Linked DNA regions of Homo sapiens: all the other regions are linked to region 2. Evidence: promoter capture Hi-C in 16 types of primary human blood cells and fetal thymus (Javierre and others, 2016). All regions are on one chromosome and are shown on one strand. The core of a region is centred on a gene start or on the middle of the fragment in contact, and the rest is flanking DNA. Distances in the headings are between cores, read along the strand shown. Region 1 has its middle 13 kb from the start of SMCR2. Region 2 holds the start of SMCR5 (Smith-Magenis syndrome chromosome region, candidate 5). Region 3 holds the start of RAI1 (retinoic acid induced 1).

Region 1 (3,995 bases), core at 983-3,482, 120 kb after region 2:
GTTCTAAGCCCCGACATGTGTAGTAACTCTTTACAGCAGCAACAGGGAACGAACACTCACAGCTTAGGATTTCCTGGCTACCGCCCAGACCTCGCCCTGCCTCATGTCCATCCAGAGCTGGGCGTGAGTGTGTAGGGTGTGCAGGTGGCCATTTACTCCTGTAGGCCAGCAGGGGCCCGGGGATCCTGGGCAGGTAGAGGGGATGGAGGATGGACAGGCTCTGGAAGCCCAGACCACGTGGATGTTCTGTGAACTGCTGGACCCTCAGCCCAGGCCCAGGAGCATGGGAGGAGTAAGCCACAGAGCATGTGTTGGCTGCTTGTGTCCACACACAGCTGGGGGGTGTGTTTGGTGCATGTCCACGTGGTGGGTTGTGCGGGTATAGAGGTGGGGAGTAGGCACTTGTGCACCTGGTATAGACCCAGTGGAAAACCCAGGTGTGCCAGAAACAGCCAGCTTCCTTTTTTCTTTTTCTTTTTTTTTTTTTTTGAGATGGATCTCACTCTGTCACCCAGGCTGGAGTTCAGTGGTGTGATCTCGGCTCACTACAACCTCCACTTCCCGGGTTCAAGCGATTCCCCTGCCTCAGCCTCCCAAGTAGCTAGGATTACAGGCGCCGGCTGCCACGCCCGGCTAATTATTTTGTATTTTTAGTAGAGATGGGGTTTCAGCATGTTGGCCAAGCTGGTTTCGAACTCCTGACCTCAAGTGATCCACCCTCCTCGGCCTCCCAAAATTCTGGGATTACAGGCATGAGCCACCACGCCCAGCCCCTTTTTTTCTTTAAATCATCTTACATCCTGTTCTAAGCCCCTATCCTGCTGGCTGGTGGGCAACTGAATCTCAGCCATTATTGGGAGCTTCTTTCTTCTCCAGAGCCACACAAAGGTCCCAAGGCCATGATGAGTCTGGCCACCGGGTCTGGCAAAGGAGGCCAGCAAAGCTCTCTGAGACAAGCTAGGGACCAGGCTGCCTGCACTGGAGCATGGGGTGGGGTTAGTAAAACAGAACAAAACCAAAATTAATATCTGCTGTTTGTCTAGAACCCTGGAGCTTTGCTGCTCAATATGGTTGTCATTAGCCACGTGTAGCTAGGTACATTTCAATCAATTTAAAAGAAATAAAACTTAAAATTGTGTGTGTGTGTGTGTGTGTTTCTTTTAGAGTCTCACTCTATCACCCAAGCTGGAGTACAAATGGTGCGGTCTCAGCTCACTGCAACCTCCACCTCCCGGGTTCAAGCGATTCTTCCGCTTCAGCCTCCCTAGTAGCTGGAACTATAGGCACATGCCACCACACCCGGGTAATTTTTGTATTTTTGGTAGAGACAGGGTTTCACTCTGTTGGCCAGGCTGGTCTTGAACTCCTGACCTTGTGATCCGCCTACCTTGGCCTCCCAAAGTGCTGGGATTACAGGCATGAGCCACCGCGCCCGGCCTTTAAAATTGTTATTATTATACTAGTCACTTTCTGGTGTTCAGGAGCGGTGTGTGGCCACCCTGTGGGACCTGGTATAGGAAGTTCTATTGGGCTGTACTGCCAGAAGCGTTCAACCACTGACATGAGTTCTGCCCCTCTGAGTGGGGTGACCTGCCCATTTACAGATGGGGATGCAAGGATCAAGCACAAAATGACTTACCCAAGGTCACTGGCAGCAGTTGGCACCTCCAAGCTCCATGGGCAGTGGCACCCCGGGCCACGGGGTAGAGTGGGTGCTTGCCAATGTTGGCTGCTGAGTGAACGTGCCAGTGCCGTCCTCTGCCTCCTTGGAGGAAAGCTGCCTGTGAAGAACAGTCCTGCCCTCGTTCAGAGGTACGGCCTCCTGATCTCAGCCTGGTAAGGCACTGTGTGGCTCTAGCCCTACCTCAGGTACCACACTTTGCCTCTTTGGGACCCTGTGTCCCCGTCCATGAGATGGAGATTGTGACCACTGCATAGGGCTGCCTGGGATTTCCATGAGTTAATGTCTGTGAAGTGCATAGTACAATCTAACTCAATCATACGACGTTTGAGAGATGATGGGATTTGGCACACAGGAATGAGCACTGCGCCTCCTCAGAGTGACTCCCAGAGGTCAAGTTGGGATTTACTTAGACTGAGACCCGCAACCTTATCATGCTTCTAGCATTCATCTGACAAACATCTATTAAGCTTGCTTTTGGGGGCCACGACCGATGTAAGCCTGCAGCTGTGAGGTCTACCCTAGGCTAGGGAAGGTTATTCTGAGAAGAAAGTGAACCCCAAGGAAGGGGAAATCCAGAAGAAGATTCCTGATGACATCTGACAGCTGGATCCAGCTGTTCCTGAAGCTTTTATATTCCTGTTTTGTTTGCCAATAATTTTTTTTGTCATTTACAACTCAAAGCCAGGCCGTCTGGTCCAACCCCTTGTCCCCTGATACTTGATGCTTCTCCATAGCAGCTATGACAGTCTCTGCTTGGATGCTGCTCATGATGGGGATCTCACTACCTACCAAGGGAGCTCTACAAGGGCAGAACCAACTCTGGTGCAAGTGAGAGCTGATAATCTATTGCTCTTGTCTGGAAATGGTGTGCACAGCTGGGAGCTCCCCTGGATTGGATTCAGGGCAGTGGAAAGAGGACCCTTCATGGTTCAGTAGACCTGAATTCAAATTTCAGGCCTGGTGGTGACTCACTGTGTGACCTGAGTGAGGCAAGGGACTTCCCCTACCTGAACCTCAGTTTCAACATCTGTAAAATGGTCTCCCTGGCCACACTGATTTGGTGAGGACACCACGAGGATTAAGCAAGAAAATGTGTGTGAAGCTCTGGGCGCACGCCAGTGTGTGGCACACAGGGGACACCTGAGGGCCACATCCCTCCTGTGGGTAATGCTAATGGACACTGCACACCCATCTGAGAGGGTCCACTCTGCGTCCATAAGAGGTTGGCACTGGGGAGTCCGCACTGGGCCAGGCTGCTCCTGCTCTGCGGAGCGTCTGCTGCAGCTGTGACTCACAGCCCGACCACACTCACAGCCCAAGACTCGGAGCCGTCTGTTGTTATGGCGACGCAAGCCCACTGGAGTCCTGGGCTGTCAGTCATCAAGGTCTGACGCTGGGGGTGTGTTTTGGCGTGTGGGTGTGGCCTGTGTGTTTGTGTAGGGGGATGGGCGTGTGAATGCTATTCCTGCGTGTTCAAGGCAGTGTGCTGGTGTTTGTGTGTGGACTTCCTGTGTGTGCAAGGCTGGGCATGTCTGCATTGAGGGCGTTTGTCTGTGTGTGGTGTTGAGCTGTGTGTGCGGTCTGGGTGTCTGTGGGCTGTGTGTGTGTGTAATGTGCCTTAGGAACGCTGGCCCTGAGGCAGGGTGGACAGGAGGGTGGCCCAGGGAGGGGTGTAGGCCTGGGTGTCTATCGCTCTGACCTGGTGGCCCTGGGTTGGTCACTGCACCTTTCTCAGCCTGTTTCCCCCTCAATAAGCACAGCAGGTTGCAAAGGGCACTCACACTCGCTATTTCATTTAATCCTCCTGTGATCCTGTACCAGCAGCTGCTCACTCAACTCATATTTAGAGTCCACTCTGTGTCAGGCCCTGGGGATACAGCCATGAACAGAGACTTCCTCCGCTGAGGGTCTCCAGTCTCCAGTCTGGTGGGAGATGGACAATACACAAACAAGCAAACAAAACCAGAGACTCCAGTGGGTGCTGGGAGAAGGAACAGCAGGAGGAGGGCACAGAGAGTGATGGGGTGGAAACTGAGGACAGGGTGGTCAGAGAGGTGACTTATGAGCAGAGGTTCTGAGGAAGGAGGCCAGAGTCATGGGAAGAGCATCGCAAGCATCGCAACAGTAAGTGCAGAGGCCCTGAGGCAGGTGGAGGTTCATGTATCTGTGGCCCAACGAGCAGGCCGCGCACTGCAGCGGTGTGGGTGGGATGGGCAAGGCCACTGCCATTTGCAGTTTGTGGATTCCAAGGCAAGTGCACTGGTGAAAACAGCCCATTGTTCATCCACTGATGAATGGAGAGGCAACATGC
Region 2 (4,244 bases), core at 643-3,142:
GCAGCAGAGGAGCTGACTGAGCTCAGAGGCCCCCCTGGGGCTTTGACTGGATCTCTCCCTCACTTGACATTTTGCAGACTGCTCCGTGCCCAATCCTGGAGACCCACAGGCATAGGAACCCGTGAGCACCTCCCTCCTGAAGGAGGTGGGGTAAGACTCCCTGCTGCAGCACAGAGGACGGAAGGTTGGAGGAAGTGGTGGGCTGAGAAAGGAGCAGGGCATTCCAGCCGCCAGGAGCTGCCTAGCTTGGTGGCGGGGAAGAATACCGCCTATTTGGGAACCTGAGATGGAGTTCTCTCTGTGGTTTAGCTAGTCTGGAGGAGACAGGCCTCAAGGGCTGGGCCCCTTCCCCAAGAGGGCAGCCTCTGGTGGGGGGTGGAGATTCCAGCAGAGAGGTAAGAAGCCTGGCAGGTTCCTAGCTCCTGGGAGGGGAGGGGGTGAGGATGCCTGTGGAATACAGATTAAAGACAGCGCTGACTCTGAGTGCTGGGCCCGGGACACTCCTGGGCCTGCCCAGAAAGCAAGGCTGGCCCAGAAGGGGAGAGACAGGGACACAGCCTCCTAAGCAAATGCAGAGCCTAGCATTACAGAGTGGGGGTTCTCAAGGGGCTTCTCCCCCAGCCAGCTAGACACTGGGCATGGACTTCCCTCATATCTGGAAAGGTCTTGATAAGGCTCAGACTGCTGGAGCCGTGTAACTGCAGCACCCTCAAAGGCTGATGCCGTCTGACCCCCTCCTGTGTCCAAGGTGCCTCAATAGATTTTACTTCTCTCAAACTGCCCTTCTGGGAGGTGACATCACCTGTCATTTCACAGACATGCAAACTGAGCTCCAGAGAAGAGAAGGGGGTATTCCAAACTCCAGCCTCTGGGGGCCCTCCCTGGTCCCCCTGTCCTAGGCCCTGAGGGGTGGGACCTCAATCGGGGAGATGCCCGTGGGGCTTTGGTGAATACAGGATACAGGCACCCAGGGGTGAAAGACATGGGCGAGGAGGTCCTGGTTCCCCCTGAAAATTTCAGAAAACTGGTTTTCTTGGGAGAAAAAAAGGGTGGGTGGCCGGGTGCGATGCCTCACGCCTGTAATCCTAGCACTTTGGGAGGCCAAGGTGGGTGGATCACTTGAAGTCAGGAGTTTGAGACCAGCCTGGCAAACATGTTGAAACCCCGTCTCTACTAAAAATATAAAAATTAACTTGACATGGTAGCATGCGCCTGTAATTCCAGCTACTCGGGAGGCTGAGGCATGAGAATTGCTTGAACCTGGGAGGCGGAGGTTGCAGTGAGCCAAGATTGCGCCATTGCACTCCAGCCTGGGGACAAGAGTAAAACTCTTGTCTTAAAAAAAAGCCTGGGTGGAGTGGCTCACTCCTGTAATCCGAGCACTTTGGGAGGCCGAGGCAGGCGGATCATGAGGTCAGGAGATCGAGACCATCCTGGCTAACACGGTGAAACCCCGTCTCTACTAAAAATACAAAAAATTAGCCGGGCGAGGTGGCGGGTGCCTGCAGTCCCAGCTATGCAGGAGGCTGAGGCAGGAGAATGGCGTGAACCCCGGGGGGCGGAGCCTGCAGTGAGCCAAGATCGCGCCACTGCACTCCAGCCTGGGCAAGGGCGAGACTCCGTCTATTAAAAAAAAAAAAAAAAAAAAAGGGTGGGGAGGGGACTAGAGAGAAGTCCCAGGGCCTACCATCACTGATTTCCCGCTACCCACTTGGCCAGGCTACCTACTAAGGGTTTCCATGTGGGGATTTGGCTCCTGGGGCTGCAGAATTATGATAATGAGGCCTAAGTCCACATGGGTCTTGTTCCTTCATCTGTAGACCAAATACAAACCCTATGTAGCCATGTGCCACACTCTTCAACTGTGTGTAGCTACTGTTGTGCTGAAAAAAATTCACTCAGGGCCTAAGAGCTTTGGGCAGTTAAATCCCCCTCCCCGACAACAGACTAACAGGTCCCATTTTGATATCAAGGGCTGGGGTTTCAAGACAGGGAACTGTGGGGCCCACGCTGTCCTGGCCTCCCTGGAGGCCTGGCTGCTCTCATGCCAGGAAGGGAGCTTCCATTTACTACGGGCCTAGGATGGCCGCCCCGCTGCCCCCAGCGCTCCCTGGGTGGGTGCGGATCCTGGCCAGTCCCCCAGACACGCAGTCTGCTGACCAGAAGCAGCGACCTTCGGGGAGAGCCAGCCACCAGCCAGCCACTGCTCCAGAGGCAGGCCTGGGGCCACCCGGGAGGCTTTCCTCACCACGGAAAATATTTGCCTTTGGTTGTCGGCTGATGCCTTGTCTTGTGTCTGAATGGACAACTGGCTGATTTCTCTCTCTTTGGAACAGCCATGAAATGCGAAGGTGTTTAAGAGTAAAAACCAGGCGAGGGCAACTGGGCCTGGCGTCCAGCTGTTTTGAACAACACTCTTGTTTTTCTCCCAGAGTGAACAGAATACTTTCTGCGGTTCAGAATACTCTGTGCACTGGCCCCTCTTCCCAGGCCCCGCCCCAGCCCCCTCAGGCCTCACCTCCAGCTGCTGCAGACCATTCCAGAACTCCCTCCCTCTTGGCTTCTAGTCACTCAGCATCTGGGGGAGAGAGCCTCTTCCAGCTGTACATAGCTAGCTTGGCCTGGCCCCAGAACTGCTGTGTTCTGGAAAGTTGTAGGAGAATCCCTCTTGGCGGGCTCTCCAGCATGGAGAATCGCAGGCCTCTGCTCCGGAAAGGGAGGCTTTTGAGAGGTCAGATTCACCACAGCCAGACCAATGAACTGTGAGGGCTCATAGGGGCTGGGGCTCCGGTTTCAGGGGTGAGAGGAGCCACCATCTGCCCCCATGCCCACTCTGATTGTAAATGGCTAGACTCTGGTGCCGGGGTCAGCTCTGGATTCATATCCCAGCTCCTGCATATGTATATGCTGGGTGACCTTGGGCAGTTTACTTAACCTCTCTGTGCTTTGTGTGCCTAAGCTGCAAGATACTCTAAATTAAACAGCAAACTTTCAGTGCTGTTGTGGGACGAAATGGGATAATGTGCTTGGTAGCTGGCAGGGGCTCAATAAAAGGTAGCAACTTCCAGGGCCACCAGTTCATGGGGAGCCAGGTCCAAGTCTTGTACTTTCTATGCCTCCCAGGGAGCCACGTATGTCTGCGACAGAGCTGGGGAGGACATTCTGGGGCTGAGGGTTGAGGTCTGCCCATAGAGCAGCGGCCTGTACCTGCAGGCAGGTAGAGTATCATCCTGGCTGAGTCTCAGTGCTCCTCAAACATTAAAGTGTACATCCTGGTGAGACGCAGATTTTGATGCAGCGGGTCAGGTGGGACAGGGGTTCTGCAGCTGTAAGGAACTCCCAGGTCAAGCCAGTGTGGCAGGTCTGTGACCGCAGCTGGTACGGCAAGATCTCAGCCCTGGAAGACTCTGGGTTCTGCTGAGGCTGGGCTCAGAGAGAGAATACAAGTTTTGTCCTGTCCAAGGAGCACCCTCCAGGATTTCAGGACAAGGCTCTGGCTCTGTGTCCCCAAGCCCTCAGTCTCAGAGCTTGGGTCCTGCAGTGGCCTGGGCAACCCTCCGGACTCTCCATTCAGCATTTGTTCCTGACAGCAGTGCACGGATAAAGAGCAGTTTCATGCTGCTGAACTTGCAATCACTTCAAGGCCTGGGCCCCTCTGGGCCTCAGTTTCCCCACTGGCACAGTGGGAAGCTGGGATAAGCTAATCCCACCCTTTCCCCTTGGTAATTCCCCACATTGCTCTTCCCTTCCCTTCATCCCTTCCCAAAACACAGGTCTGAGGCCTGAGCATCCATCCTAGGGGCTGGGCCCCCATCCCCATGACTGCAGTCATGGGGTACAAGACTCATGCAGACTCGTAAGAACAGCCACTTCTGACCTGGGGCCTCGATGTTCCAGGCACTGTCCTAGGCATTTGCATCTACAAACTTCTCACCATAATCCAATCACCACTGTTTTACAGATGAGGAAACTGAGCCCCACGGGGTGAAGCCTATTGCCTGAGATCTTGCAGTTGGTAACGGGTGCAGGCTGGACTCAGGCCCCCACACATGCCCAGGCCCTTGAGTATTTGTAAGGGAAGCAGCTGTTTGGTTTTCTTGGCACAGAGCATCTGCCTAGCTGGTGAGGGCATGGGGAAAGAGGTGCCCAATCTAGTTGGGGATGGGAGGGTAAAATGGTACTACCTCTTTGGAGAGCTTTCTGGCAATATGGACCCAAATGCAAATTACATGTGCCCTCTAACC
Region 3 (4,545 bases), core at 1,641-4,140, 98 kb after region 2:
AGAACAAAAAGGATTACAGACCAGCAGACACAGTAAGGGAGTTATTTCAGTAAACTTTTGTTTCAGCTATATACAGTGTGACCTGTGTAGTTACCTACGATGTATTTCTTACTATAGGTCACGGGCAAGAATTTGAAAGCAATTGGTCTAGGCTTGGGAGTCTAAAGAGGAGTAAGGCTGGGTGCAGTGACTCACTCCTGTAATCCCAGCACTTTGGGAGGCCAAAGAGGGAGGATCGCTTGAGCCCAGGACTTCAAGACCAGCCATGGCAAGACCCCTGTCTCTAGAAAAAAAAAAAAATTTAAAATTAGCTACGTGTGGTGTCGGGCGCCTGTGATCCCAGCTACTCAGGAGACTGATGCTGGAGGATCGCTTGAGCCCTGGAGGTTGAGGCTGAAGTGAGCTGTGTTTGTGCCAAGGCACTCCAGCCTGGGCCACACAGCAAGACCCTGTCTCAAAAATAAAACAAAGAGGAGTAAGACAGGGTCCCTGCCTATGAGAGCCCCACAGTCTAGTGGAAGAGAAAGGCAGCTCCAGTACCCCTGAGTTCCCTTTATCTCCACAGAAGCCAGAGGGATGCTAGGCTGGTGGGAAAGGTCCTATTTTGCCCACTCCACAGTTGGCTTCTGGGGCCTGGATCTCACCTTGATACATTCTCCTCCTCTCCAAGGCTTTTGCTTGTGAGAGCTTTTGCCAGAGTTATGGGGCTGAGCCTGCCCTGAGATCAGAATGATGTGTCCACTTCTGTGTCACGCAAAAGGCCACTTTTCCTTGCTCCTGGGCCCCGAATATACCGGCTTGCCTGTCAAGAGGGGGAGGGGTGGGAAACTAGAAGATTCCTTTCCAGTTTCTAGATCCCGAGGGCCACGTCCCAGGAAAGCCTCTGAAAACCCAGCTGTGTGGTCAGCAGGGAGGGGCCACCATTCAGTCTGCAGCGAGGGCTGCCCCCCACCTGGGGTGGGCCTGACCCTGAGCAGAGCGAGGACTGTATGGAGAATGGAGGGGGGCAGGGGCAGGAAGAGAAGCAGAGCCCCCAGCTCGGGGCTCCCATCACGCTGGCGCCTCCACATCAGAGCTAGCCTAACCCACCCCCGCCTCTCCTCCCAGGGCAGCAGACAACTAAAAAAAGATAAAATAAAAAGAAGTAATTCCCCTGCTCTGACGTCAGCGCGAGGTCTTAACAGCCCGGCAGCGGCATGAAACTGGATTGCAACCAGATGTAATGCCCTTGAATTCTCAACACACTACTGCATTGGAAAGACATAAAAGGGGGGCGGGGGACAGTATTGGTGGGAGGAACCGTGCAGATCCCGAGTGGGTCCCTGAATCCGGGCCCGCCGAAACCGCGGGGAAGGCGGCGCGGGAGAGTGTGCGGCGCGCGGAGCAGCGCCCGGCCGGCTCCGCCATTCAGGCGCGCGGCCTCCCCTCCCCCAGCCCCCACCGGCGCATTGTTACACTCGCTCCCATCCATTCAGAGCCCGAGGCCCGCCGCGCCCCCGCCAGCCCGGGCTCCGCGCAGGAGAGCACCGCGGCAGCCCGCACTCCGGCCCCTGCGTGGACTGGATAACGACCAAGAGCCCCAAGAAAGAAAACTGCTAGCCGGGAAAACGGGCGCCCCAGGAAGCTGGGGCCGCGACGGCCTAGGGCCTGGCTGGTGTTTCGCTTCCCCTCCGCCCCACCACGGAGGCCCCTGGCGCGACCAGGCTCCAAATGTCACCCTCGCGTCCTGCCACCCCTTGTCCCCGCCGCACTCGGCCCCCATGTCCTCCTCCCGGGTTCCCTGCCTTCAAGGCGCGTGAGAGGGGGGGCCGGCCTCGAAAAGGGCGGCGGGCTGCGCCGCCGTCTGTGGGGCGCAAGGCTCGCGTGTCCGGGGCCCCCGCCCGTGACGTCATCCCCGAAGGGCCCGTGCCTCCCGGGCCTGGCCGCTACAGAGCTCCCCAGGTCGCGGGGGCCGCTTCCTGCCCGGCCTCGGGGCCTGCGCACAGGCCCCGGGGCCGCTGCCCGGGTAGGGACACCGCAGAGAGCCCGAGCACCCATCTCGCCACGCACGGCCTTCGCCGGCCCTGACTCCCAAGCGATGGCCACGCCGGGCCCGGGTCACGCATGGGGAAGTCAGCTCCCCGTCCCCCACCTCGGACGCACTCACAAAGCTCACCTCCGCCCCCGGCGCCCCGCGAATGCACCCCACGTCCCCACCCCACGCTCCGCAAAGACTCCGCGCCTCGGCGCAAGCAGATCCCTTGCCACACTCGCCCCTCGCGCCCCCATGCCCCCACCCGACCTCAGCTGGCCGCACATCCCCCAGAAGACCCTCAGCCGCGGCGCAGGGCGCCCCCACCCTGCAGCTCCCCAGACGTCCATCCGGTGACCTCGCGCACCCCCCACACCACACAAAGCAAGGACCCCGCGGACCCCACATCTCCACCCAGCGCGCGCGCTCGGCGTCCGAACCCGCCTCGGCTCATCACCCGGCCTAGGATCCCGACGCCTCGCGCCGCCCCCGCCCCGGGGCAGGATACACTGCGCCCCCCGCGCCCCGGCGCTCGCTGCTCACCTCGGCGCCCGCGCTCACTCGGGGGCCTTGGGTCTGGCGCTGCGACTTCGCGGCCCGGAGGCCTGGGTGGCCATGGGGGTCGGGGCGCGGCGGCCCGGCCGGCCCGCGGCCAGGCAGGAAGGAGGGTGGGCCGCGGCGCCCCCTCCTCGCGCCGGCGCTAGGGCCGCGGGCAGGGCGGCCTGCTCGGCTCGCCTCTCGCCCTCGCTGCACTCGCTCTCCCACTCGTCTCTCGGAGCCCAGCCGCGGGCGGGGGCGGCGCCCGGGGACGCGGGGAGCGGGCCTTGGCCGCGCACCCGGCCGGGCCTGCCTGGTGTCCGCGGGTGCCGCGAGGAATGCGATCCCCTCCGCACAGGAAGAGCGGACGAGCGGACGGGCGGGCGGGCGACGCGCGGGGGGAGAAGGAGAGCAAGAGCGCGAGGAAAAAAGTTCCCGGGCGGCCTGGCTGCGCTCGCTCGCGGCCCCGGGCGCCAGGTGGGCCGTGCGCGCCCCGACAGCACCCCCTGGCGGTCCGCGCGCCCCACTGCGCGCCCCCCGCCCGCTGGCCGGCCTGCGGGAGGGGGCCTCTGCGGTGGGATCCCGGTGCGGCCTGGGAGGACACTAGCGCCCTGCGTACAGGAGCTTCCAGCGTCAGGCCAGGCCCCCACCCTCACCCCACCATTAGCCCTCACCTGTGCCCACTTCTTTGCAGTTTGAGAAACATTTTCGATTTCAAAACTCCATTGGCTTCATGTAAACTTCATTTACTGGGCACCTGGCACCTTGCTGAGTCTTGAGGAATCAGCAGAGACAATGCGGTCCCTGCTGTCGTGGAGCTGGCATCCTGGTGGGAAGAGACAGACAGCAAACAAATGCTTAGATACATGACGAAGATAATTTTAGAGCAGTAAGTGCTAGGACGAAAATTAGCAGGTGAAGTGACGGCTAGGGCTCCTTGGCTGGGGGAGAGAGAAGGAGGCCTGTCTGTGCAAAGATCTAAATAGCAAGAGGAACCGCCATGGGTAGAGTCTGGGAAGAGCATTTTGTTCTTTTAGAGGCAGGGTCTTGCTGTGTTGCCCAGGCCGAACTTGAATTCCTGGCCTCAAACAGTCCTCCCACCTCAGCCTTCTGAGTAGCTGGGACTACAGGGGCCTGCCCTCCTGGGAAGAGCATCATTGGCAGAAAGAACATCAAGTGCAAAGGTCCTGAGGCAGGAGAGAACTTGGTGAGTAAGTGGAATTGTGAGGAGGCCGTCAGCAAGGGGACAAGTAATGGGCACATTGAAGTCAGAGCCATATCGGGAGGGCCAGAGCCTGCAGGGCTGCAGAGAGCTCAGTGAGGAATTTGTTTGCAATTCTAGTGCAAGGAAGGTAGCCACTGGCAGACTTTAAACAGAGGCATGTTGAATGAGAGAGTCCTTGCATGAAACTTAAGGTACAGACCTCGGAGCAATTTCATGCCTAGGTCTCTACTTGCCATAGCTCAGGTGGGAGCTCACTGCCACCTGCTTGGGAAGCCTCTCAGCCCCACCCAGGCTCTAGGGTCTGTGGGATATGACCCCATTAACAGCCCCATCGAAGCCTCCCTCATTTGTCCTTTGGTAGGGCAGAGGGGAGCTGGTCAAGGCATCAGAGCTTGTGGGTGACCTGGGACAAGTGAATCCTGCATCTGCAAAATAAGGTATTGTGATAGATGGGGGGCCCTCACTCTGTCCCAGGCCTGCTGTGCCCCTTCTGTGCATGGTCTCATTAGATCCTGGTGCCCCCTCTGTGAGGTCGGCTCATCACATTTTGTGGATGAGGAAACAGGCGCAGAGTGGTGAAGTCCCCTGTCCAGGTTCTCAAGCTACAGGACAGAATCAACACAGGTCCCCACAGTCCTTCCTACTGGACTTGGCTACCCGTCTCCCAGGGTGAATGTCAAGAGCAAGACAGAGCTGGATCCCAGTGCGAACTGTGTTGTTTTAAGCTTGTTTTAAGTGCGGTTTCTGGATGACAGATCTGGTTTATTTTTAT

Evidence for each region. Contacts are between HindIII fragments. The CHiCAGO score rates a contact against its expected background, and 5 or more counts as called.
Region 1: a fragment that was not itself captured here is called in contact with the fragment with the promoter of SMCR5 in region 2 in 1 of 17 cell types (megakaryocytes); the score reaches 5.6 in megakaryocytes.
Region 3: the fragment with the promoter of RAI1 here is called in contact with the fragment with the promoter of SMCR5 in region 2 in 11 of 17 cell types (megakaryocytes, endothelial precursors, M2 macrophages and 8 more); the score reaches 11.2 in megakaryocytes.

What each region holds. Positions count from the first base shown.
Region 1 is chr17:17,662,540-17,666,534 of GRCh38, reverse strand. No RefSeq gene overlaps it. Among named protein-coding and RNA genes, the nearest start is that of SMCR2, 13 kb to the left of the region's middle. RefSeq lists enhancers at 2,713-2,852, 3,343-3,432. The HindIII fragment of the contact is 158 bases long and covers 2,154-2,311 here.
Region 2 is chr17:17,777,177-17,781,420 of GRCh38, reverse strand. SMCR5 (Smith-Magenis syndrome chromosome region, candidate 5) reads left to right here and starts at 1,892. Exons shown (of 1, transcript NR_024007.1): 1 at 1,892-4,244. The region is part of intron 2 of RAI1 (retinoic acid induced 1); the gene reads right to left. All of the region lies in intron 1 of LOC124903942 (a long non-coding RNA gene), which reads left to right. RefSeq lists enhancers at 1-886, 1,776-2,665. The HindIII fragment of the contact is 16,515 bases long and covers 1-4,244 here.
Region 3 is chr17:17,679,803-17,684,347 of GRCh38, reverse strand. RAI1 (retinoic acid induced 1) reads right to left here and starts at 2,890. Exons shown (of 6, transcript NM_030665.4): 1 at 2,555-2,890. RefSeq lists silencers at 1,230-2,179, 2,166-2,338, 2,350-2,429, 2,490-2,629, 2,660-3,169 and an enhancer at 2,248-2,849. The HindIII fragment of the contact is 10,976 bases long and covers 1-4,500 here.